Regions from separate parts of the Homo sapiens genome. Here region 2 is linked to region 1. Evidence: promoter capture Hi-C in 16 types of primary human blood cells and fetal thymus (Javierre and others, 2016). All regions are on one chromosome and are shown on one strand. Each heading gives the region's core, a stretch centred on a gene start or on the middle of the fragment in contact. The rest is flanking DNA. Distances are from core to core; before and after follow the strand shown. Region 1 holds the start of POLG (DNA polymerase gamma, catalytic subunit). Region 2 overlaps MFGE8 (milk fat globule EGF and factor V/VIII domain containing).

Region 1 (6,016 bases), core at 1-2,500:
CTTGCGGCTGCTGAGGCTGCTGTTGCTGCTGCTGCTGCTGCTGCTGCTGCTGCTGCCGCCGCCGCTGCCCGTCGCTGGGGTCGGACGCGGGGACGGAGCTGGAGACCCAGCGCCCCGGAGCTGGAACCGGCCCTGGCCCGACGGTGGCGCCGGCCACCTTCCTCCAGAGCAGGCGGCTCATGGTTGGTGCAGGGACCCCCACGCTGGGAGTCAGAACACCTGGCTTTGGGCTCCAGCTTGGCTTCTTTTACTGGCTGGAAGACGTGGAGAGAGACACGTCCTGTCTCTGCTCTCCTGTCAGTGAAATGGGTTTGACCATGCCTGCCTTCCACCCCAAATCCTAAAGGAGACAGATGATATAAAGCGTTATTTTACCATATATGTAATAGGTGTATCCATAATCATCATTCCTTGAGCATTTACTGCGTCCCCAACACTGTGCCAGGCGCTTCAGTTGCATTTTCCGTTAAGCCTCAAAACTTGGGAAACGTCAATACCCCTCCTGGGGGAACCGGGGTCCACGCAACTTCGTCAGTGAACCCACGTGGGGAAGCCGAGGGCAGCGAGTAAGAGAGCAGTATCTGGAGTAGGGCGACGCGGTTTTGAACCCCGCTTCTGGCTCTCTCGAGCTGTGTGACCTTGGGCAAAGCTCCTTAGGCCCTGATATCCTATTCTGTAAAATGGGATTACGGATTCTGCCTGTCACACCGGGCTGCTGTCTGGGGGACACAGGGCGCCTATGTCGTGCGGCCCTGCTCTTGGCAAGCGCTCGGCAAATGGTGGCTGCCATTACCGCGACCGGCGCGGGCCTAGCGTCGAGAGGTGCCAGCGCCCGGATTCGAACCCGCAGGGTGGGCCGCCGTCCCCCGGGACCCACACCCACACCCGGACCACGGCCCACCCGGCCGAGAGCGTCCTGCAGGAGGAGTCGGCGGCCACCCCCGTGCGCCCCGCCGCCCGCCTGCGCCCGGCAGAGGCGCCGCGGTGCGCCCTGGGACTAGCCGCCGCCCTGCTCCGGGCCTCGCTCCCTGACTGGAGAGGGAGGGGCCGCGCCGTCGCTCAGCGACCCGGCCTCCCCGCCGCCGACCCCGCCGGAAACCTCGGTCCTCACGGTGCTTCCCGGTCTGCTGCTCCCCCGACCCCAGGCCCACGGCACGGCGTCCCCCTTCGCGCGGCCTACGCAGCCTCGGGGTAGCGTGTGGCCTCCACCCGGCCGGTCCGCTTCGCTGGCAGCCGCAACTTCCCGTCTGCACCCAGCTAGGTCCCGCGGCTACCCGAGAGGCAAGCGGGAGACTCCCAGCGCGACCAATAGGAGGGCCGCCAATGGAGCGGTCCGCCCGCGGGGGGAGAAGGGGGACTTCTGGGTGGGCTCTCCCTGCGGAACGCGCGAACCAAAGGCCAACCTCCCCTTCTCAAGGAGCAGGTGGATTGGTCCCGAGCTAGCTGGTGGGCGGAGGTGACGTTTTTATAAGTTGCTCAAGAGACGGTAACAACCGACGGGCCGCGTGGCCTAATGGATAAGGCGTCTGACTTCGGATCAGAAGATTGCAGGTTCGAGTCCTGCCGCGGTCGAAGGGAGGTTATGATTAACTTTTAGTTTATTCCTCCCTCAGGAACGAAGTATTGGGACAATGTGAACGTAGTCGCCGCCGATTCCCACCGCACTTCAAAGATGTGGGAACGCCAAGATCCGCGGAAGTAACCACGCCCAGCAAGTCCCTGCGAGATTGCCCGCCTACGTGTCTCAGCGGAGGCACATTTCTAAAATGTACCAGGTCTCTCGCACCCCGACGCAGGTGGAGGAAAGTGGAGAGGGAGGGGCATCCTGTACAGAAATCTCAATTTATACTCAATTGATGGTTGGCAAGAGTTGGGGCTCGCAGCCAAAGCGAGGCTCCCTCCCTCGCCCATCCGGTGCTGCCTCCTCGTCCAGAGCAATTCTGAGGGGTAAAAATGTTGCCTTCCGTTGAACCTGAATTTGCCCGCAGATGCTAGCCTCCGGCCCACAGCGCGGCTGGAGCTTGTCCCCTTCCCCAGCTGTTTCCAGTCTCCGCATCCGTCTTGTGTTGCTCCAGGTGCTTCAACAGCTCTCAGCGCTCGGTGGTTGGTGAACTGTGGTAAAGTGCACGCAGAATAAGGTCTACGTGATTAAGCACCGCCTGGGGGTTGGGGTCTGGAGGCCCAGCTGCACAGATGAAAGGGAGGCTCAGAGACGTTTGGGACCAACCGAGATCACACAGCTGATTAGGAATAAAATTCAGGTCAAGCTGAAAGTCGGCCGCCACCGTCCAGCGTGGATCCCAGGACACCGTGAACGGACTACAGAAGTTGACTTTCGCGTTTTTAAGGAGTGGGGTGCAGGGAAACAATCCTCCGCCGGCCCTGCGGGCTGATGCCGACCCTCACCTGCTCCCGCCACGTGGAGAGGTAGAGAGAAGCCCCGGGCCAAGCAGCATTGAGCCCTGGTCCCTTCTATTTAAATATGAAATATTTTGCATACACTTTTCTAGATGTACTTAATATACACAATGTTTTAATGTTTGTGATTTTTTTGTTTTGCCAAAAAAATACAATCAATCAGAAATTCATCTGTTTTTTTTTTTTTTTTCACATAACTGTTGACTTTTACAAAATACTGGAAGGAGAGGCTCTCAGCTTAAATCAGGGAGTCCCTGAATGGGGAAAACATTTTCATCTTGTTTCTTCTAACCGCCTACTGATACTTGGCATTTCCTCCAATTATGAGCATAGGCTGTCAGCCACAGTGGTATTAACAGTGCCTGTGACTTTGTCCCCTCCAGCAACCACAGATATTTTCATAACGCATTACAAGTGCTGCACATTTTTCAAAATTTGTTTGCACTTATCTGTACTTCAAAATAACAGGGGTTACTAGACTGCCACTAGATCCTGTTAGTTAATAAGTTTACCTATTTGTCCTAATATTTGAATACCTTTGGTGTCCTTTGTAATCCTTCATGTTTTATGTGCTTAAAAACACTATTCTTCCATATAACCAAAAACTGCCTGTACCCCTATTGAAATAAAAATTAATAAAACATATTTCACAGAAAAAAATTAAAAACAGAAACACTACTCTAGGCCAGGTTCAGTGGCTCACGCCTGTAATCCCAGCACTTTGGGAGGCTGAGGTGGATGGATTGCCTGAGCTCAGGAGTTGAAGACCAGTCTGGCCAACATGGCGAAACCCCATCTCTACCAAAAAAATACAAAACTTAGCCCGGCATGGTGGTGCACGCCTGTAATCCCAGCTACTTGGGAGGTTGAGGGAGGAGAACCTCTTGAACCCGGGGGGCAGAGTCTGCAGTGAGCCGAGATTGCACCATGGCACTCCAGTCTGGGCAGCAGAGTGAGACTCCATCTCCCCACTCCCCACCAAAACAACAACAACAACAAAAAAAAGAAAAAAAAGAAAGAAAGAAACACACTATTCTAAGAAGGTGTCTATGACACAAAAAAGCTAAGAACCCCTGGCCCAACTGTCCACAGGGGCTGCTGTTGCTGGGCCTGATTGGCCTCTCCTGAGATTCAGTCTCAGGAGATGTCCATCAAGATGCCTGCTCCTCCCATAGACTACTTGAGACTAGCCTAGTGCCCTGGTCCTGGAATTAGAATCTTCAACAAGGACAAAAACGGTTGATACTGATTCCTGCTGAGGGAGGGTACCTGGAGGCCTGCACCCTTCCTGCCAGGCTACACCCTGTTTCCAGGCCTTTCTGAACCCAGCTCCTCCACTTCCCCTGCCTCCTTTTCTAGGAACTCCCCCACGTCCTTCTAGAAAAGTCTGTCCTTGATAGTGGTTCCTGAGAAACAGTTACATTTTCCCACAATTCCCTGGACCTCTCCCCCCACAGAGCAAGAGGCAAAGTTCATTAGGACCCCTGTCCTCATCAAAACACTCCGTACTTTTTTTCTTCTTCTTCTTCTGAGACAGAGTCTTGCTCTGTGCCCAGGCTGGAGTGCAGAGGCGTGATCTCAGCTCACTGCAGCCTCCACCTCCCAGGTTCAAGCGATTCTCGTGCCTCAGCCTCCGGAGTAGCTGGGATTACAGGTGTGTGCCACCATGTGGATCTAATTTTTGTATTTTTAGTAGAGACTGGTTTCACCATGTTGGCCAGGCTGGTCTGGAACTCCTGGCCTCAAGTGATCCACCCGCCTTGGCCTCCCAGAGTTCTGGGATTACAGGCTTGAGTCACTGCGCTGGGCCAGAACACCCTGTACTTTCAAAGCATGTACCTCAGTTGTAACTAATGATGATTTTTTAAAAATCTCCCCCTTCCACTGCTGTAAATGCCCATAGGGACTGACCTTGTGTCTTATTTTGAGCTCAATTCCAGGACCTGCCTGGAGCTTGGTAATAACCGGCACTTGCTAGCTGCCAGGTGCTGTTCTAAGGGCTCACATATGTCACTTAAGTGAATCCTCACATCGACCCTTGGATAGAGGTACCGTTATCCCCTTTCACCCATGAGGAAACTAAGGCACAGAGAGGCGAAGCAGCTTGCCTAAAGCCCTATAGCTGGTCATTGGTAGAGCTGGGATTTGAATTCATGGAAACCAGGATCTCAGCAACTGCACTACACGGCAAATACTGGCTTTATGATGCTAGCAGAGGATCCCTACTGCACAACTGTGTGCCAGGCGCTGCACGTGCACACTGATGTGGCCTCCTACATCACTGCTGCTGACTAAGTAAGGGGCCCTCAGGTGACAGCCTGCTCCTCCAGAGTCCCTCTCGTGTGCTTACTTCCTGGTGACTTTCATGGTCTTCTCTCAGGTTTGCCAAGCCCAACTCCAGCAATTTCTGCCACAGACAGAAAATATCACCACTCTTCCTTTATCAACAGCTACCACTTGCAAATGAACCAGGCTGAACGCTTTAGAGCACCATTTTATTTAATCATTTCAATGACCCCATAAAGTAGGTGCTGTTATTATTCATTTTACAGATGAGAGAAGATAGACTCCAGTAAGAAGTGTGAAGTAAGAAGTGTGAAGCATGGTGGCTAATGCCTGCAATCCCAGCACTTTGGGAGGCCAAGGCAGGAAAATAGCTTGAGGCAGGAGTTCAAGACCAACCTGGCCAACACAGCAAGACCCCCATTTCTAAAAAAGATAAAGAATTTTTTTTAAAACTGGCTGGGTGTGGCAGTATGTACCTGTATTCCCAGCTACTCAGGAGGCTGAGATGGGAGGATCACTTGAGCCCAGCAGTTCCAGTCTAGCCTGGGCAATATAGCAAGACCTTCATCTCTAAAAAAAATTAAAAATAAATAAAACTTATAAAAAGAAAAAAATGAGAATGTGACCTTGTGACCTATGTGTGGAATTCAGGATGATAGCCATAGACTGTTTTCAAAACATGCTTCATATTTCGGGGGGAATAATTGGTTCCATCAACTCCACACAGTTTACGAACAGGTCAAAAAGAAATTGATTGAAATGCAAATAATTTTTTCAGGATTGGGAAGCTTCCTGATGGGAAGAAACTGTGCCCTGTCATCTGTATGTCTGGCACACAGAGACAGACGTCTGTCATTCTTGTCCCCATCCCATTTTGTCCCTCCTTAGCTCCTGACCAAGGCTCCTGGCTCAGGGAGTTAGGGACAAGGCTTATTAACTAAGTTGAGCCAATCAGGACACTCCACCAAAAAAATTAACGGCATTGCCTTCATATCATCAAATATCCAGTCAATGTTGAAATTGCCAATGGCAAGAGCGTCTTTTTGCTTTAGCTAGTTTGGGCTGGATTTTCTGTCACTTGTGGTGGAAAGAGCTCTCACTGATTGAGTGCTTATTAAATATTTGCTAAACAAATGAATGAACTTTTTGAAAAAAGTCTTCAGCTAAATTTCACTGAGATGAGACTAGCTAGGCTGTAGGTGAGATTCTTAGATTTGCAAAATGCTTTGTAGTTTGTCATTTGCAACTACTTATAATATTACCTTCGCTCCACAACAATCTATGATACTGGAGGTATCTATGGTACAGGTAA
Region 2 (6,016 bases), core at 3,475-5,974, 430 kb before region 1:
CACATACACATTCACACACATTCACAAATACACATTCACACATACACATTCACACACACACATTCACACACACATTCTCACACACACATTCACACACATTCTCACACATTCACACACACATTCACACATTCACACACACACATTCACACATACACATTCACACACACATTCACACGCACGCATTCACACGCACGCATTCACACACACTCACATTCACACACATTCACACACTCACACACACACATTCACACACACACACACATACACACACACACCCTTTCTCCACCTTGGTGGAAGCAGGATCAAGAGAAGGGAGTACAGGTGGGAAGAAGAAAGAAAAGCCGAAGAAAAACAAGGCTTTTCCAGAACTCTTTTGGGGAGCAGAAGAGAAGCCTGGGCTGGAGAGAGGTCAAAGATCTGGCAGTCCCACCTCATCCCACCCAACCCCAGCCCCATATCCCAAGAAGGCTGACCCACCTGCAGCCACTGATCGTTACCGTAGCTCCCCGCAACCCAGGCGTTGAAGTTGCCCTGCTTGTCCAGCCGTGCATAGGAGGGGTTCCAGCTGAAGAGATGCAAGCCCCAGGTCTTGTAGCTGCTGGAGGCCGTGATCTGCTTGTCAGGGATGCTGTTATTCTTCAGGCCCAGGGGATTGGCGCATCCTGCCAGCAAGGTGGGCTGTCATCTGGATCTGGGATCCACAGCTCCCAGGGGCAGGAGCACAAGGCGATGAAGCAGAAAGAACTCTGTGGATCCTGACCAGCCCCTGTCATGCTCTTGGGCAACAGAAAGCAGCTCCATCCGCCTTGCAGGGCCAACTGTGCGACCTTCTCACTGCCGACCCCACCACCTCCTCACCTCAACCAGCCGGGCTCAGCTCCTCACAGATCACCCAAGACCTCCCACTCACCACCCTTCTCCTCTGCACCAGGGAAGGCCCCTGCTCCACCACCTCCTGCCCTCCTTCAATGCCTGACTTTGGAGACACCTCCTCCAAGAAGTCTGCCCTGACTACTTCACTTGGGCAGGATTTCTTCCTCTTCTGGACTCACAGCACTGCCCCCATCGCCTCGGCCTCCCATCCGTCCCATGGCACAGTCACTATCTACTTTAATAACAACCACATTGTTTATTCAGTGCTTACTTCAGTCATTTAACCTGCCACCAAAAAAAAAAAGAAAAAAAAACACTAAATGAAGTAGAAATTAGTAAGCCCATTCTATAGATGAGAAAACTGAAAGACATTAAGCATCATGCTCAAGTCACATACAAACTCCTAATGTCACACTATGACGTCACCTCTACCAGCTACACATCCCAGCTAGATGATGAAGGCCTGCCTAGTGACGACCCAGTGATGAACAGGACAACATCCCTGCCCTCCAGCAGCTGGCAGTTAGAGAAATCAGACAACTCCTGGGGCACAGGAACATCTCTATTTCCATTCCCCAGAAGCCCCCTGACTTAGTGTCTCCCAGAGGGCCTTCGCACACTCAAATGTTCTGGGGATGCTGTCACACAGGCCTGTGAGGGCTGGCCCGGGAAGCTGGCCTTTGTTTCACTCAGCCCTGCCCCAAACACTCAGGAATGTGCCGGGCTGCCTTGCACTTGTATCTGCACCTGCATATGGATAGAACAGTTGGGGATGGGCAAGAGATACAACTCCCAAGAGAATGATGGGGGTGTCTCCCACCTGGAAGAATCCTCACTCCACAAGTGTCTATCCCTCTGGGGAATTGAGGGAGGCAGGAGTGGACGGTGGGACTGGAGAGCCCCCTGCCCTCTGGGAGCCAGCTAAGTTATATCACTGCCCTCCAATACTCTCACCACTCAAGAGTACTGGGAGCCAGCTAAGTTATATCACTGCCCACCTGTACTCTCACCACTCAAGACATTTGCCTCCAGGGTGTGTTGACAATGCCTGCTGATGGTACCATCATCTCCTGATGGTGATGCACCAGGGAACCACCACCTTCCCCCTCAAAGAGAGGCTCCCGGGCTGAGAGCTGGTTGTCCCTTGGCCCCAGAAGAGGAGAGGCCTGAGGCAGGCTAAAACCTGGGCAGCTTTGCAGAGGACACCAATTCTGCACAATGTGCTCAACGCAGACCCCTCTACAGATCATCTGCTTCTAGTGGTTCATACCCTCCTCACTCTCAGCCTCCCCAGGAAGTCAGACAGCCTTTCTGGTAAAATGCAGTTGGAAGGGGCACCAGGGCAGGGACAGGACTGTCAGCTCCAGCACTCTAGGAAGTCCCTTCCTCTCTCTGGCTCTCAGTCTCCCCATCTATAAAATGAGATACTAGGGGAGTAATTCTCACAGATCACCTGGGGATCTTGATATAAAAAAAAAAAGCTTATGTTTCAGCAAGTCTAGGCTGGGGCTTTCAGTCTGTATTTCTTTTTTTTTGTTTTTTTGTTTGTTTGTTTGAGACACAGTCTCGCTCTGTCACCCAGGCTGGAGTGCAGTGGCATGATCTCGGCTCACTGCAACCTCCACCTTCTGACCGGGTTCAGGCAATTATCCTGCCTCAGCCTCCCTAGTAGCTGGGATTACAGGCACCTGCCACCACGCCTGGCTAATTTTTGTATTTTTTTAGTAGAGACGGGGCTTCGCCATGTTGGCCAAGCTGGTCTTGATCTCCTGACCTCAGGTGATCCGCTCGCCTCGGCCTCCCAAAGTGCTGGGATTACAGGCGTGAGCCACCGCACCCGGCCTCAGTCTGCATTTCTAAGAAGCTCCTAGGTGATGACACTGCGGGTCCCTGGGGCTCTTCACCCACCAAGCTGCCCCTCCATCTCTTGGCTCCAGCTCCACTGGCCTTCCTTCCACCCTTCAACATGCCCCAGGGCCTTTGCATTTACCAATTCCTTGCCTGCAGTGCTCTTTTTGCAGTGCTGTTTTTAAGTTTTTCATGTGGCTGGCTCTCCATCATTCAGGCCCCCAGTCAAAGGCCTTCCCGACAGAGCAGTCCTTGTCTTGCTCTCTCCCCTCACCCCAAGTCATGGTCATCTCATCAGCCTCTAGCTTTTCTTCAGAGCTGTTACTGCTCTCTGTCATCTGCTCCTCGCCTCAAGTCTGCCTTCCTTGCTACAATGCAAATTACATGAGGTCAAGGAATCATTCCCTAGAGCCAAGCACCCAGGAGGGGCTTAATCAATATCTTAATAAACATCCATCGAATTAAATAATTAATTTACCAAAGACACCATATGTCTGCAAAGAGGAATCCCTTGTGGAATCCCAGGTACCCCCAGACCTCAGCCCCACCCACACACATGCACACGTGCACACATGCACACATGCACCAACACTCTCCAGCCGACTGGAAGGCCTATAGGGAAAGGAGTGGTCCAGACCCTGAAGGAAGCAGACAGGGTACCTGGGCTTCCTTGGTTTGCAAGACTCACCCTCTCTTGGCCCTGAGCAGGGGCCAGTCATGCCTGGATACAGGCAACTTTAATGGCCAAAGGCTTCAAGCCAAAACAGCAAGTGTCAGGGACTCCAGGGAGAGGCACACAGACCTGGCTCTGTCCTTTCCCAGTAGCCTACATTTCCTTCTAGCAGAAGGCAAAGTCTTATACTCCCCACTGAAACAATACGGCTCAAAAGGGCCCCTGGTGGAGGAAGCATACCTACTCAAGTTCATACTAAAAACACTGAACCCAGCCAGGCACTGAACTCAGCTCTGAGGGGTATTTGGGTGGTGTCTGAAATGAGACAACAGGAAGAGGTGTCACAGAGGGGAAAGGCGGGGCACAGGAGGGCAGGTAAGATCAAAAGGCCAGCGGGTAAGATAAGAACCTCCACTCTGCAGCTCTGCTTAGCGAGCCCTACAGTTCCACTGATGGCCAGCAGGTGGCATTGTGGCTGCAAAGAGAGAGAAATACCCAGACCTCAGGAAAGCTGGGTTGAGCTGGGCTGAGACAATTAATGTCTGTCAGCCCAAACCCGGCACTCTGACCTCGCCCAGGCTGTCCCCTGGCTCTGCAGAAATCTGTCCCTTTATGGTCTCCCCAGCTCTTCATCTGGGAATCTCTTTGGAAAAGGCAGCAGGAAGCACCAGCTCCAAGCCCTGTGGTCCAAGAAGCCCCTGTGTTTCTCTGGAGTGCAGACTCTTAAGAGTTTGGCAGGGAAAGCTCTGGATGGGTGTGGTCGGGAGCCCAGAGATCTAGACCAAGTCTTAATACCTACCAGATGTGTACCCTTAATAAATCATTCATCGGGGCCCCACGCCCCTCATTCATTCATTCGCTCATTCATCAAATATTTATTGAGTACCTATAAACCAGACACCATTCTAGGCCCTGGGAATACCGAAGCAAACAAAACAGACAGATTCTCTGCCCTCGTAAAGCTGACATCTGCCAAACACACCTAACGCTACATGTTCTAGAAGCTACAGGAGAGGAGCCAACCAGAAGAAGGGAAAATACTTTGAAAACTGATGTCTTTTTCTCTATCAATCAGAATGCCCTGGGTCATGGGTTGGCAGACAGCAAACACCTGGGTGGGGCTGCTATGGCCAGGTGACCCCCTAGAGTGCGTTGCCCGAGTGAAGCCTGGTCCCCGTGCCTTGTTGCTGCCCTACCTAGCTCAGTTTGGCTGAGAAAAGAGGCAGCAGGGAGGGCCACCTCCTAGGATTGGCCAACAGTGCCCCCCTACCCGCACCCCCAGCACTCACCGTTCAGCTCACAGCCCAGTAGCTCAAAGCGCAGAGTGCAGGCCGTGTGGCAGCTCGTGGGGTACAATCTCACGTACTGAGCCTCCACAGGGGTCTCAAACAGGTTGACATGCACCGCGTTTTTGTTCCAGTTACCCACAAACTCCTAGCAGGGAAGGGACAAGACTGGAGAAGGGGGTCCATCTGAGCAGTCCCCCTCCCTGGGGTTACCTCATCTTCCTCTTCAGACCTGGGAGGCAGAGGTGGGGCTGGGAGGGTGAAGAGGACTTGGAAGAGCCAGCAGAGGCTCACACAGCAGCCTCTCCTTTGGCCACCCCACGGCCCTCCACAAAGATTCTCCTCTCACTTTCCTTAATCATCATGGAGCCTGGGCATAAACCCCTATAGCTGACACAGGGCCACCTGTAACCTACAGGGTACCTCTTTGCAAATTAGGAAAAGGCACTCCTTTCTCAAATAGTTTATTATGACAATTTTCTGACAGAGTTCCACAAATGTACAATGCCTGTACTGTGAATGGTGCCTGCTTAGCAATGACATCCTTGAGCAGTGTACAACCTACACAACTGTACATGTACCCATGAAGGCTCAGAATGAAACCCAGCTCCACCACCACTATCACCCTCAACAGGTCACTGTGCCATTTTGAATCTCACTAGTCTCATCTCTAAAGTGGGACTATTGCTTATAAACCACAGAACATGGACACAGTCTGGGTTTCCCAATTTCTAGAAGCCAAGATGCACCCGAAGACCCACATCATAGCCAATCACCTAGGGTTCTCTGGACTCGCTGGGGGTCCTCAGTCAATGCTAGAACCTTAGGGGGTATGGACCACAGCCCTTCTTTCGGGCCCCAACAAGACCTACCTTGTGTTTTTTATTAACATCATGGATGAAATCGAATTCGTGTCCATTAAGGCTGTAGGCCACCTTGAAGGCCTTCAGGTACTCATGACTGGCCAAGCGGCTGGCACCCTGCGTCACCACACCTGTTACCCACATCCTCCGCAGCAGGTTCACCTGGACACAGGGCAGGGGAGATGGCACCCTTATCTCCTGGGTTCTTTCCACTCAAGATCCAAGCAGACCCATCCCTTCACTCCCCCACTGGGTGGGGGAACAACTCAAGCAAAACAGAGGAGGGGTAGCTGAGCACACTGCCCGCACAAAGGGCTTTCTTCTTCTGCCCAGGCCTCCAGAGGCCTCATCCAGCACCAACAGCTCCTCCACAGCCTGGGGCCTCCTCCCCCCTCACCTTGACCCCATACCAGGTTCCTCCAGGGATGCCATCCACTTACAGATACTTCATCCATGGGAACCTGTTACCTTGC

Evidence for each region. Contacts are between HindIII fragments. The CHiCAGO score rates a contact against its expected background, and 5 or more counts as called.
Region 2: a fragment that was not itself captured here is called in contact with the fragment with the promoter of POLG in region 1 in 1 of 17 cell types (activated CD4 T cells); the score reaches 5.0 in activated CD4 T cells.

Annotation. Positions count from the first base shown.
Region 1 is chr15:89,333,574-89,339,589 of GRCh38, forward strand. POLG (DNA polymerase gamma, catalytic subunit) reads right to left here and starts at 1,251. Exons shown (of 23, transcript NM_002693.3): 1 at 1,100-1,251; 2 at 1-340. The coding sequence starts at 181. It overlaps POLGARF (POLG alternative reading frame), which reads right to left and starts at 236. Exons shown (of 2, transcript NM_001430120.1): 1 at 1-236. The coding sequence starts at 236. It overlaps POLG-DT (POLG divergent transcript), which reads left to right and starts at 914. Exons shown (of 2, transcript NR_186332.1): 1 at 914-1,281; 2 at 1,614-2,588. It overlaps TRR-TCG1-1 (tRNA-Arg (anticodon TCG) 1-1), which reads left to right and starts at 1,500; the gene lies at 1,500-1,572. RefSeq lists enhancers at 519-1,020, 1,890-1,989, 2,000-2,069, 2,410-2,459 and silencers at 710-1,309, 3,267-3,436. The HindIII fragment of the contact is 8,583 bases long and covers 1-5,490 here.
Region 2 is chr15:88,901,074-88,907,089 of GRCh38, forward strand. MFGE8 (milk fat globule EGF and factor V/VIII domain containing) reads right to left here. Exons shown (of 8, transcript NM_005928.4): 4 at 5,553-5,705; 5 at 4,684-4,828; 6 at 478-662. Among named protein-coding and RNA genes, the nearest start is that of HAPLN3, 8.5 kb to the left of the region's middle. RefSeq lists a silencer at 3,772-3,961 and an enhancer at 5,823-6,016. The HindIII fragment of the contact is 4,744 bases long and covers 2,353-6,016 here.